Regions from separate parts of the Homo sapiens genome. Here all the other regions are linked to region 3. The links are contacts of gene promoters, found by promoter capture Hi-C in blood cells and fetal thymus (Javierre and others, 2016). All regions are on one chromosome and are shown on one strand. Each heading gives the region's core, a stretch centred on a gene start or on the middle of the fragment in contact. The rest is flanking DNA. Distances are from core to core; before and after follow the strand shown. Region 1 has its middle 26 kb from the start of EED. Region 2 overlaps EED (embryonic ectoderm development). Region 3 holds the start of RAB30 (RAB30, member RAS oncogene family).

Region 1 (3,084 bases), core at 188-2,687, 3.1 Mb after region 3:
TAAAACTAACAAAACTAACAATTTATGATATTGGCACCCTTCTTCCCTATGTCATTCACAGGTCTGCTTCATTCCTACGGATTAAACACCTCTCCAGGATCCTAGATTCAAGCCATTGCTTCTCGCATTTCCACCTTCTCACTCCTAAATTAAATGAGGGCTGGCTCTGTCCAAGAACACAATCTTTACTTTGTAGAGAAGGTATCTACCTCACAATTGGCTTTGCATTTCTCCAAATTCCAGACTTCTGCTGGCAGGATGTTCTAGTCCCAAAAGTGACTCCTGGCGAGGCCAGATTCTGTTCCCACCATAAGGGATGGAGCCTCACAAATATGCAGCTATGTGCCTTTGTAGTCTCAGCCTCTCAAGAGTACATTTTCTTTAGAAATAGTTATCCATCTCTGCCTGTTGGTAATCACTAATTAAAGGTTTGGGTAAGATTTCCTCGCAGCAAGAATCCTGCTATGAATTTCCTTCCTCCTAAATCTTAGTCCCTTGCGAGACCACACCAGATGCCAATCTTGTACAATTAGGAGGTGGATTCAGAATCTGCCAGGATTCTGAATCCTGCATGTGACTGCACAAGCTTCTCATCCAACACATACACAGAGGACGCTGGACAAACGCCTATGCTTTGCTGCCAGTTCATGCTGGGCTCCAAACCCTATCAGATCTCTTGCCTCAGCAGCTGGACTGAACAAAGTGGACTCCCTGAGGTTACTTTTGCCCTCCTGACTTGAGAACGTCCCAGACACCAATCCCAAGGCAGTGAAGAGATGAAAAGATGAAAGCATTACAAGAGTTAACAAAAGCCGAGTCGCCAGAGGTCACTGACGGGGAAAGTCTCTCAGCCCACTTCTGTTTATAACCACTTTATTCCTTCAACAGAATCCCCTGCAGAATCATTTCTCTAAAACCTCCATCTATATCTGAAATCCCCATTTTGTCCTGGAGTCTCTTCAGAGATCTTTTTTCTTTGGAAGGAAGGACGGAAGCCTTGAGCACCCCCTGGAGGTAGGCGTGTGCTAGTAAGCGTCTCCTTGGACTGTGGTTCTTTTTGTACCAGTTGGTAGTAGCTTTCGTACCAGTTCGTTGATACTTTTGTCACCTGGATTGCTGACTTTCGCTGGTTTCCAGTGCTGCCTCTAGGTGACCTATCTACAACTTCTATGACAGCTGACTGTCATAGGGGCTTCCACCTTCTTTGTATTCTAGCCTTGATAAGGGGAAGGATCCCTTGCCCTGCTGCAGAAATAAAACAGCCTGTTTCTCAGCCTTGTCCTCCATTTTCTCCTGTAAGACAGTTTGTTACTCATACAATTCTACTTGACATCTCTCCAACTTGCGTTGCTCCCTTCTTCTGTATCCTTATTACTGCTCTTCAATTTGTGTAAAATTATTGTCCTACCTTCAGCCCTTATCCTTATGAAAACCTTTTCCATTCTTTAAAAGCCCAGTTCACTGGCCACTTTCCCCACACCTACCTCTGAAATCCTGTAAAACTTATTTACAAAGTTCTTATCATACACTGCCTTGTATTTTAGTTATATCTGTATATATTATCTTACTGTATCCAACCAATTACCCAGCACGGTGTCTAAGATGCAGTATTCAGTTAATAATCATTAGATAAAAGTTGAATTAAGTTGTTGAGGGCTGTTTTCAAACACCCAATTTTCTAAGAATAGAGAAAACATTACTGTTAAAGATGAAAAAATACAAAGAAAGGAAGAAATAGAAGAAAGAGATGGGGCAGACAGAGATACAGGAAAGAATGGTGACTATGTAACTATAAGTCATGACGAATTCTCTCCTGAGAATACCAGTATGTTATAGAAAGAACACTGACTAAGTGTCAGAAAACTCAGCTCAAGTCCCATTTGGTTTTTAATGAACTGAATGATCACTAACCTACTCTCTGGGCCTCAGCGTTTTCTCTAAAGAACCAAAGCAGTGGGTTATATGACCTCTGAAGTTTATTACCATGTTGACATTGTATGACCATCTCTCTATTCAAGCATAGTGGTAGGATGGCGCTCAGATTGCACCTGTCACAGAGACTGGCATACTATGTGTGCTAATAAGTGCCAGTTCCTCTTTTCTTCGCACATAATGGAAATATTCTGCAACATTCTCAATTTTAATAAGGAGAAAAGTTCATCTTTATCCATTGAGGATAACATGGTAAAAGAGAATTGTACTACGTATTTAATTTAATTTTATGGAAGAATTTTTCAGTGGTTAAGTCTATTTTTAATTCCAGGTCTTGCCATATGCTGTTTCAAGGGGAAGCTTCTATTCTACAACAAACTACTTTTTGAGTCAAATGAAGAACTGAAAAATAGTTAGGCTTAAACAAATTCTTAGTCAACCACATCATGGTCTGGAAAGACACAAAAATCATTTGGCAAAGATTGCTCTAAATACAGTGAGAAAGGAGAAAGGCAGCAGGTGATGCCAATCAAAAAGGAGAATGCACTTTGGGAGGCTGAGGCGGGTGGATCACAAGGTCAGGAGATCGAGACCATCCTGGCTAACACAGTGAAACCCTCTCTCTACTAAAAATACAAAAAATTAGCCAGGCGTAATGGCGGGCGCCTGTAGTCCCAGCTACTCCGGAGGCTGAGGCAGGAGAATGGTGTGAACCCGGGAGGCAGAGGTTGCAGTGAGCTGAGATGGCGCCACTGAACTCCAGCCTGGGCGACAGAGCTGGACTCCGTCTCAAAAAAAAAAAAAAAAAAAAGGAGAATGACTTTAAATAAGATATTAGGAGATTCTGGAGAATTAAACTAAAGTTTTTGGAACCTATGACAATTGCAGATGTTCAGATTAATATGTGTAGGAACAACTTTTGTATCCGTGATTTTAAAGGAATAAGGAGTTCTATTTGTGGGACTTTTCACATTTACTAAACTTTAGTTCTTTATTTTTCTAAAAACTGATTTAATTTCACTATTTTATCAGGATGTTTTCCTGACTTACTTAAAAGAAGTCTAAACTACCTGCCATTCCTGCAAAAACATGGTGTTCTTTCACTCGTCTGTGTTTTTGTGGGTGCTGTTTCCTTCTCCTGGAAGTCCTCCC
Region 2 (3,227 bases), core at 220-2,719, 3.2 Mb after region 3:
AAATTCTTTTAAAACGGGGGGCGCGGGGACGAGCGGGCTGCTGTGGGGGGAGGGAGAGGTGTCACTCAGGAAAACGCGGGCGTGCGGGAGAAAATTGAAATTGCCTACGGGGATTTTGATGTGGGGCCGAGAGCAAGCAGGAACTAGGCAAAGGAGAGTGGTTCTAGTGATTGCGTGGGTCTGAGAAGTCTGCCCTGAAATCAGTTTGCATGTGATGGGGAGTGTTTTGGCCTTTGGGGGGATTTAAGGGGAGAGTGCGGGTCTGAGATTCTAGTAGTTTAAAAGGCACGTTAGAGACTTTTCTAAGAAAGTTGGAAGGACGGGGCAGAGTTAGGGACCCTGTTAAAGGAGCGTAAGGGTTGTCACTCTAAGACCCTTGTGGAATTTTCAGGATGGAAAGTGATCTTCGATTTGCGGAGTTTGGGAGACTTTATTAAAGGGGGTTTTGTGTCCGCCTCCGTCCTGTCCGCGGAGACCGGGTGCGCCTGAAGGTCGCCTTTTCTGTAGGAGGAGCCGAATTGAGAGGATCGATTTTTGATTTGGGGGTGGGGAGTGACTACCTTTGAGGAAGTAAGAGTGGGTGATTTCTTCTTTGAACGTTTTTACTTAAGATAAAGGTGAGGGGGGTGGCGACCTGGAAGATTTTGGGCAACAGTGGTATAGGCAGATGTATTTAAGTGTGGGTTCCTGGCTTCGCCAAGTGCGCGATGTTTTGCAATCAGATTTTTTTAAGCTCTGAAATGGGTATTCGTAATCATTCGGTACCAACATTTAACCCAACTGAGTTTTAATTGACTCGCCAGTAAGAGCCGAATTGACATAAATAAGTTTTCAGTTTCATGTTTTAGGTTGATAACCAGTAAGGTCAACGAAGTATCTTGACAATTTATTCAAAGATACTACTCCAAAATGTGATTCTCCTTCTCATGATATATAACAACTTGTGAATATCTTTTAAAAAATCCTTAAAATGTTTCAGAAGAGTGGCGTAAGTTCTTCATTTTCTCAGTTTGGCTAGTTTTAGGAATAAATGTTACATCTTCTACACGCAGTTTCTAAATTCTGTCATAATTCCTAGCTGAAACATATAATGATGTCATGACTAAGATTTTCACGGAAAAGATGGGAAAGGATTCTTTTTGCAGAGACAAGATAGATATTCTTGGGATTGTCAGTTTGTGGGATCTTAGACTTCAAATTTCAGAAAAGCTTGGGTGTTAAGTGTTACTTTTGTATTTTTCACCCGATTGTGCGCCCCAATCTCACTGTACATTGGGATCTAACATTTTTTACCCTCTTCTTTTTATTATTTGAAGACCGTTCATTTTATTTCTGCGTTTTCTTAAATTTCTCTAGGCAGATTAGAGTATTAAGAGCACAGATGCTGGATCCAAGTGATAGGTTAAAATTTCTGTTCTATTAGCTTGACCTCGAGCAAGAGACTGACATAATTGTCTTAGTTTCTTAAAAATGAGGATGGTGGTGTATGGTATTTACCTCATAGAGTATTTGTAAGCATTAAATGAGTTAATATAGCTAAAGTACTAAGAAGAGTGTCTGCCCCATAGTAAGTACTATACACATGTTATTTATTTATAATAATTACTACTACTAATTTTATGATTACATAGAATAATGTTTCTGGCTCTTCCACATACTTAATAATCAGGCAAAATATAATGAAACTGTCAGACCTGTTTAGAATGAAGAAACTTGCAAAGGACAAAATAAAGCTTATTTTCTTCTTGCAGACCCTTACAGGAAAACATATTCTTTGCTGCAATTTTAAAGCTGTTCAAGACCAAATGATTGGATTAGTTTTGTTTTGGTTCCTCCATTTGGATAGCCTTAATTTTGTGTGTGTGCGTGCGCATGCCTTGGAAGCCTTAATCTTGTAGAGTCTTCTCAAAATAACATTTTTAGATGTATGAAATACAGGATATGAGGTTACAAACAAATTCAATTATAAAATTGTACACCATGTTATAAAATATTTCTAAAACAAATTTTAGATGTAGTCCTATACTATATGTACTTTATTAGCACATTAAGTAACAAGATCTAGCAGCGGGTCTGATAGTAGTGATGGGTATAAACACTTTTTCGAAGTGTAATATAAAAATACTTGATTTCCATTGGTGGCAGAGTCACAACTTCAGTAACATTAAGCATGTGTTACCTAGATAATAATAGAAGGAAGTGCTAAATTTTAAAGGTGGCAAAAATTAAGATGCAATTTTTTTTCCCCATTTGAGTTCACAAGCCTTCTGAATTTCATCCATGTACCCCTGACTTAGGGGCAGTAGTAAGGTAAGGGAGTAGAGAACATTGTATAAAAATGAGTTTAGAAAAGATAAGGGCAATAGTTTTACTCTTGAGGGAGCCAAATAATGGCAAAAGGCCAAAGCAGATGGGGTGTGGGGGAATATGTTTTTGTGTTAGAGTTCAGGTAACCTGAGCAGTTACTACTGTTAATGTGAGTCAGAGAATTACAGGCACATATTTTACATTTATTGTGTTACCTGCCATTTTATTGAACTTTTTGAGATCATATGACTGCAGAGTAGTTGGCTTCTGCGAGAGTACTAATGGATGCCTTGGTAGTAAGATCAGAGGGCTGAATCTGGAGACTTGTCTTTTTGCTTAAGCAAAAGCAAAGATGCAGGGAATCCCTGTGGCAAGATGCAGGTGCAAATTACTGCCCTGTGTCTCTTTCCTCGTTGGGCAAGTGAAGATGGTAGTACCATGTCTGTTGCACAGTATCATTCTTTACTTTGAGAATGGAATAGGATGGAGGTCACCCTGTACATATATTAGACACTCAGCAAAGACTTGATTTTAGTTTAAAGATAAAATGGAAGCATGGTGGCTGTATTACATTTTCATTTGATTCCATCTTGATTTGCCTTGGGAGGAGATGGGTAAATTAAGTGATCAGAAGTAAAATAAGCAACGTGCCCTATTAACGAATGTTTTGTGTGGCCTCTGTATTGGCAGCTCAGTGTTTAGCCAGAATGTAAAGAAACTGATATATAAAAACGTCTTAGAGTTTTTAAAATTTCAGTTCTCTAGTGTTAAAAGGTAATTTTACAGAAAAAATGGCAAGTGAACACATGTTGAAACTTTTACTCAGAGGGAACCAGGCAAATGTTATACAGTAATGGTTAACCCGCAAAATCAAAACAGTACAAATTTATTAATATATGGAGTAAAGGAATGGAGAGATG
Region 3 (3,045 bases), core at 546-3,045:
AACAGAATTTCAAGAGATGTGGGTGGGATGGGGTGGGGTGGGGGGAAGAAATGAAAGTACAGGAGAGAAGGGTAGGGTGTCCAGAAGAGCAGAGCGTCATCAACAGAGAGACGCAGAGGCAAAGGCTAACTGTTGATCTTTTCCCAAATCCAAAAGCTGCTCATTGGCATCCCAATAAATCACTCTACTACAAAGCCCATACAATGGACTGTCCTTTGCATTCAGCATCAAGCAGCATTTAATGAAATATCACACAGCTACAACTTTGGAGACCTAAGGATCTGAATTTAAAATGAACAAAATTGGCTTAGCAGCAGAAGACAGCCAGTAAAGAATTTCGCCCATGTCTGACTCAGCTAGGAAAAGGTTTAGCATTCTAGAGTTAAGCAAATACTCTGGCATTTCTCCTTCTTTTGACATTCCAAGAGGGGGTGTGGTTGACCCCAGGCCCATTCATTTCCAAGGGTGTAGATCTCTCAGCCAAGACTGGCCCCATCTGTTGTGGAGCCAGCCAGCTGTTTATCTCAAAGTAACATATCTATTGCCCTAATTATCCCTATAACTCTTACAAGAGCATCATGTAAGTCAGAATGCTTTCTCTCCTGTTAAATGTCAGTTCGTTTAAAAAAACAACAATAACAAAACAACCAAAATCACTCTTCCATGGGCACCTTTCAGTAATGGCAAATGAAGGTTAACAGCGCTTCTAACTTTCCCTTTCTCTAATGTGTTAAAATGAACCCCTCTTCCCTAATCGATCTCTTCAAACCGTTATTTGTGAGTAGTGACTATGCCTCAGGAAACAGCAGCTCATTATGGTACCATTGTCAGTGGCAAAGAGCCTATGCAATGTAATTTAAAACACACAAGCACAAATCTGTCGGCTCCACTTCCAAACAATCTTGAATCCAGCAGTCGGAGAACGGAAAACATTTAACAAAAACGCTGCTTCCAGCAGCCTGAAAGAACCTTCGCCAGACACGTGAAATGTTTCTGACTGGCACGGAGTGCACCATTAAAGGACACTGTCACCTCAAATCAGCAGAAAAGGCGAGACAAACCACATAGACATACACACATAAAATAAAGCCCTACAAAACTTAAGCACGTTCATCTTAAAAATTAATAACTAGTGCTCGTCCAAGCGACATTCAAATGTTCTAAAGTAGTGCGACCACATTAATTCACTGTCTCCATTTCTCCCCACGCATCACCCCTTCCCACTCAAACCTCAGCTCTCGGGCCGTGTGTGACAGGACTGCAGTCCCCCACCTCTGCCTTCCTCAGATTTTCCAAGAGCACTCCCCAACATCCTTCCCAGCCCAGCCCCCTCTCTCCGCCTCAAAAAGGTTGAGAGGAGTTGCGACTAGGGAATTGGCAGGCACCCGTCCTCTGGCGGGGGAAGGTTGCTGGAGTTGTTCTTTGCAGTGACCCAAATGGCACAGAGCTTTTCCCCTTAGCTGTGCCTGCAAGCCTCTCCCCAATCCCCCCCACCTCCCCACCGCTCACAGCTTCCCAAAAGAAAGCCTTGAGAACTAAGCGGGAGGAATAACTTGGTAGAAGCATTTGAATAAATCACTTCAACTCACCTGGTTTGGGATTTTTCTCCCCACCCCAGGCATAAACAGAAATGGATGTGCGAATGAGTCACGCACGCAAGGGAAGGTCTGCGATGTCCTGAGTCCAAGGGCTGGAGTCAGTCCCTGCCCTGGTGCTGCTGCTACACTTAGCTCAGCTGGAGCGAGCGGCAATCGCAAGCCCAGCAGCAGCAGGGGGTGGAGAGACCGTAGCACAATGAATGCAGTGGGGCTTTTGCAATGACATCATCCCTCTGTCCAAACGTCCCCAATAGCCATGCTCGGGAGCGGTGCTTTCTGGGAACTGTAGTCTTCTTACGTCCTGAAGGGATACCCAGGCAATCCCCGAAACTACAATGCCCAAAATGCTCCAAGTGGGACGCGCCCAGAGTGAAGGAGCAAAGGGGACTCGGCCGCCATGTTAGGAGTACTGGGACGATTCCGCGGAGCCGGGCAGAGGTTTTAGGGGTGCGCAGGAGTCAAGTGGTGGTTCAGTGGGGACGGTGAGGTGGAGGACGATCTGGTCGGATAGCCGCGGGCACGAACCTGGGAACCAGAGGGTGGAGGCCATGCTGGGGACTGATGTAGGGCGGGACCGACTGGAAGCGGCATCCAGAGGCCCAGTGAGCCTCGGTCTCAGCTCCTGAAGGGGTTGCATGGGGCCCTACGCTTCCTTCTCCATTTTTTAGCTAAGAGATTGAGAGAGTCGGTTTACTTTTGGGCTTGGAGTATCATTTAGATCTGTTAACAGTACAGTTGAGAGAGTTGGTGTCTTTTGTTGAGGTGCGAGGACCCGAGGCGGCGACCCTCGCCTTTATTCGGAGAAGCCCACTTCCACCCACAGAGTTGGGGTAGTCCTCCGAAATGCATTTTTGTTTTGCCGTTTGTTTTCCAACCCCCTTTCACTCTCCCCAAAGCTTCAGATTCACTGATTTTTCATACAGGAATGATTAACAAAGGCGTCCGAAGAAATCGTTGTTGGAAGGTGACCAAGGTGGAAAGAGACGTTGCTTTGGCCCTGCAAGTAAGAAGAGAGAGGGAATAGCCTGAAGGAGTAACACTAAATTTAAAATGACACTTTTTTACCAACCAGCGAAAGCAGATGTTCAAAGGGGATATTGGCCAGGTGCGGTCGCTCACGCCTTTAATCCCAGCACTTTGGGGGCAGACGCGGGGAGATAGCGTGATTCTAGGAGTTCAACCCCAGCCTGGGCAACATGCGGAGACCCCGTACCGTCTCTACAAAAACATTAAACAAAAAAATTAGCTGGGCATGGTGGTGTACCCCTGTAGTTGCAGCTACACTAGAGGCTGAGGTGGGAGGATCGCTTGAGCCCGGGATGTTGAGGCTGCAGTGAGCCTCGATCCTACCACTGTGCTCCAGCCTGGGCGACAGCAAGCCCGTGTCTCAGAAAAGGCGGGAGGGGTGGGATATTATTGATGATAGGCCTTCTGACGTCTGGCAATA

The links. The method cuts DNA at HindIII sites, captures the fragments that hold promoters and counts their contacts. A CHiCAGO score of 5 or more calls a contact.
Region 1: a contact is called between a fragment that was not itself captured here and the fragment with the promoter of RAB30 in region 3, in 2 of 17 cell types (naive B cells and total B cells). The highest score is 15.4, in naive B cells.
Region 2: a contact is called between a fragment that was not itself captured here and the fragment with the promoter of RAB30 in region 3, in 1 of 17 cell types (total B cells). The highest score is 12.0, in total B cells.

The regions. Positions count from the first base shown.
Region 1 is chr11:86,217,647-86,220,730 of GRCh38, forward strand. No RefSeq gene overlaps it. Among named protein-coding and RNA genes, the nearest start is that of EED, 26 kb to the right of the region's middle. The HindIII fragment of the contact is 1,706 bases long and covers 585-2,290 here.
Region 2 is chr11:86,245,390-86,248,616 of GRCh38, forward strand. All of the region lies in intron 1 of EED (embryonic ectoderm development), which reads left to right. Among named protein-coding and RNA genes, the nearest start is that of EED, 2.2 kb to the left of the region's middle. RefSeq lists a silencer at 2,258-2,552. The HindIII fragment of the contact is 524 bases long and covers 1,208-1,731 here.
Region 3 is chr11:83,070,102-83,073,146 of GRCh38, forward strand. It overlaps RAB30 (RAB30, member RAS oncogene family), which reads right to left and starts at 1,796. Exons shown (of 5, transcript NM_001286060.2): 1 at 1,590-1,796. It overlaps RAB30-DT (RAB30 divergent transcript), which reads left to right and starts at 1,965. Exons shown (of 3, transcript NR_038903.1): 1 at 1,965-2,045; 2 at 2,522-2,703. It overlaps LINC02951 (long intergenic non-protein coding RNA 2951), which reads right to left. Exons shown (of 3, transcript NR_186233.1): 3 at 2,301-2,595. RefSeq lists an enhancer at 1,749-2,238. The HindIII fragment of the contact is 10,527 bases long and covers 1-2,492 here.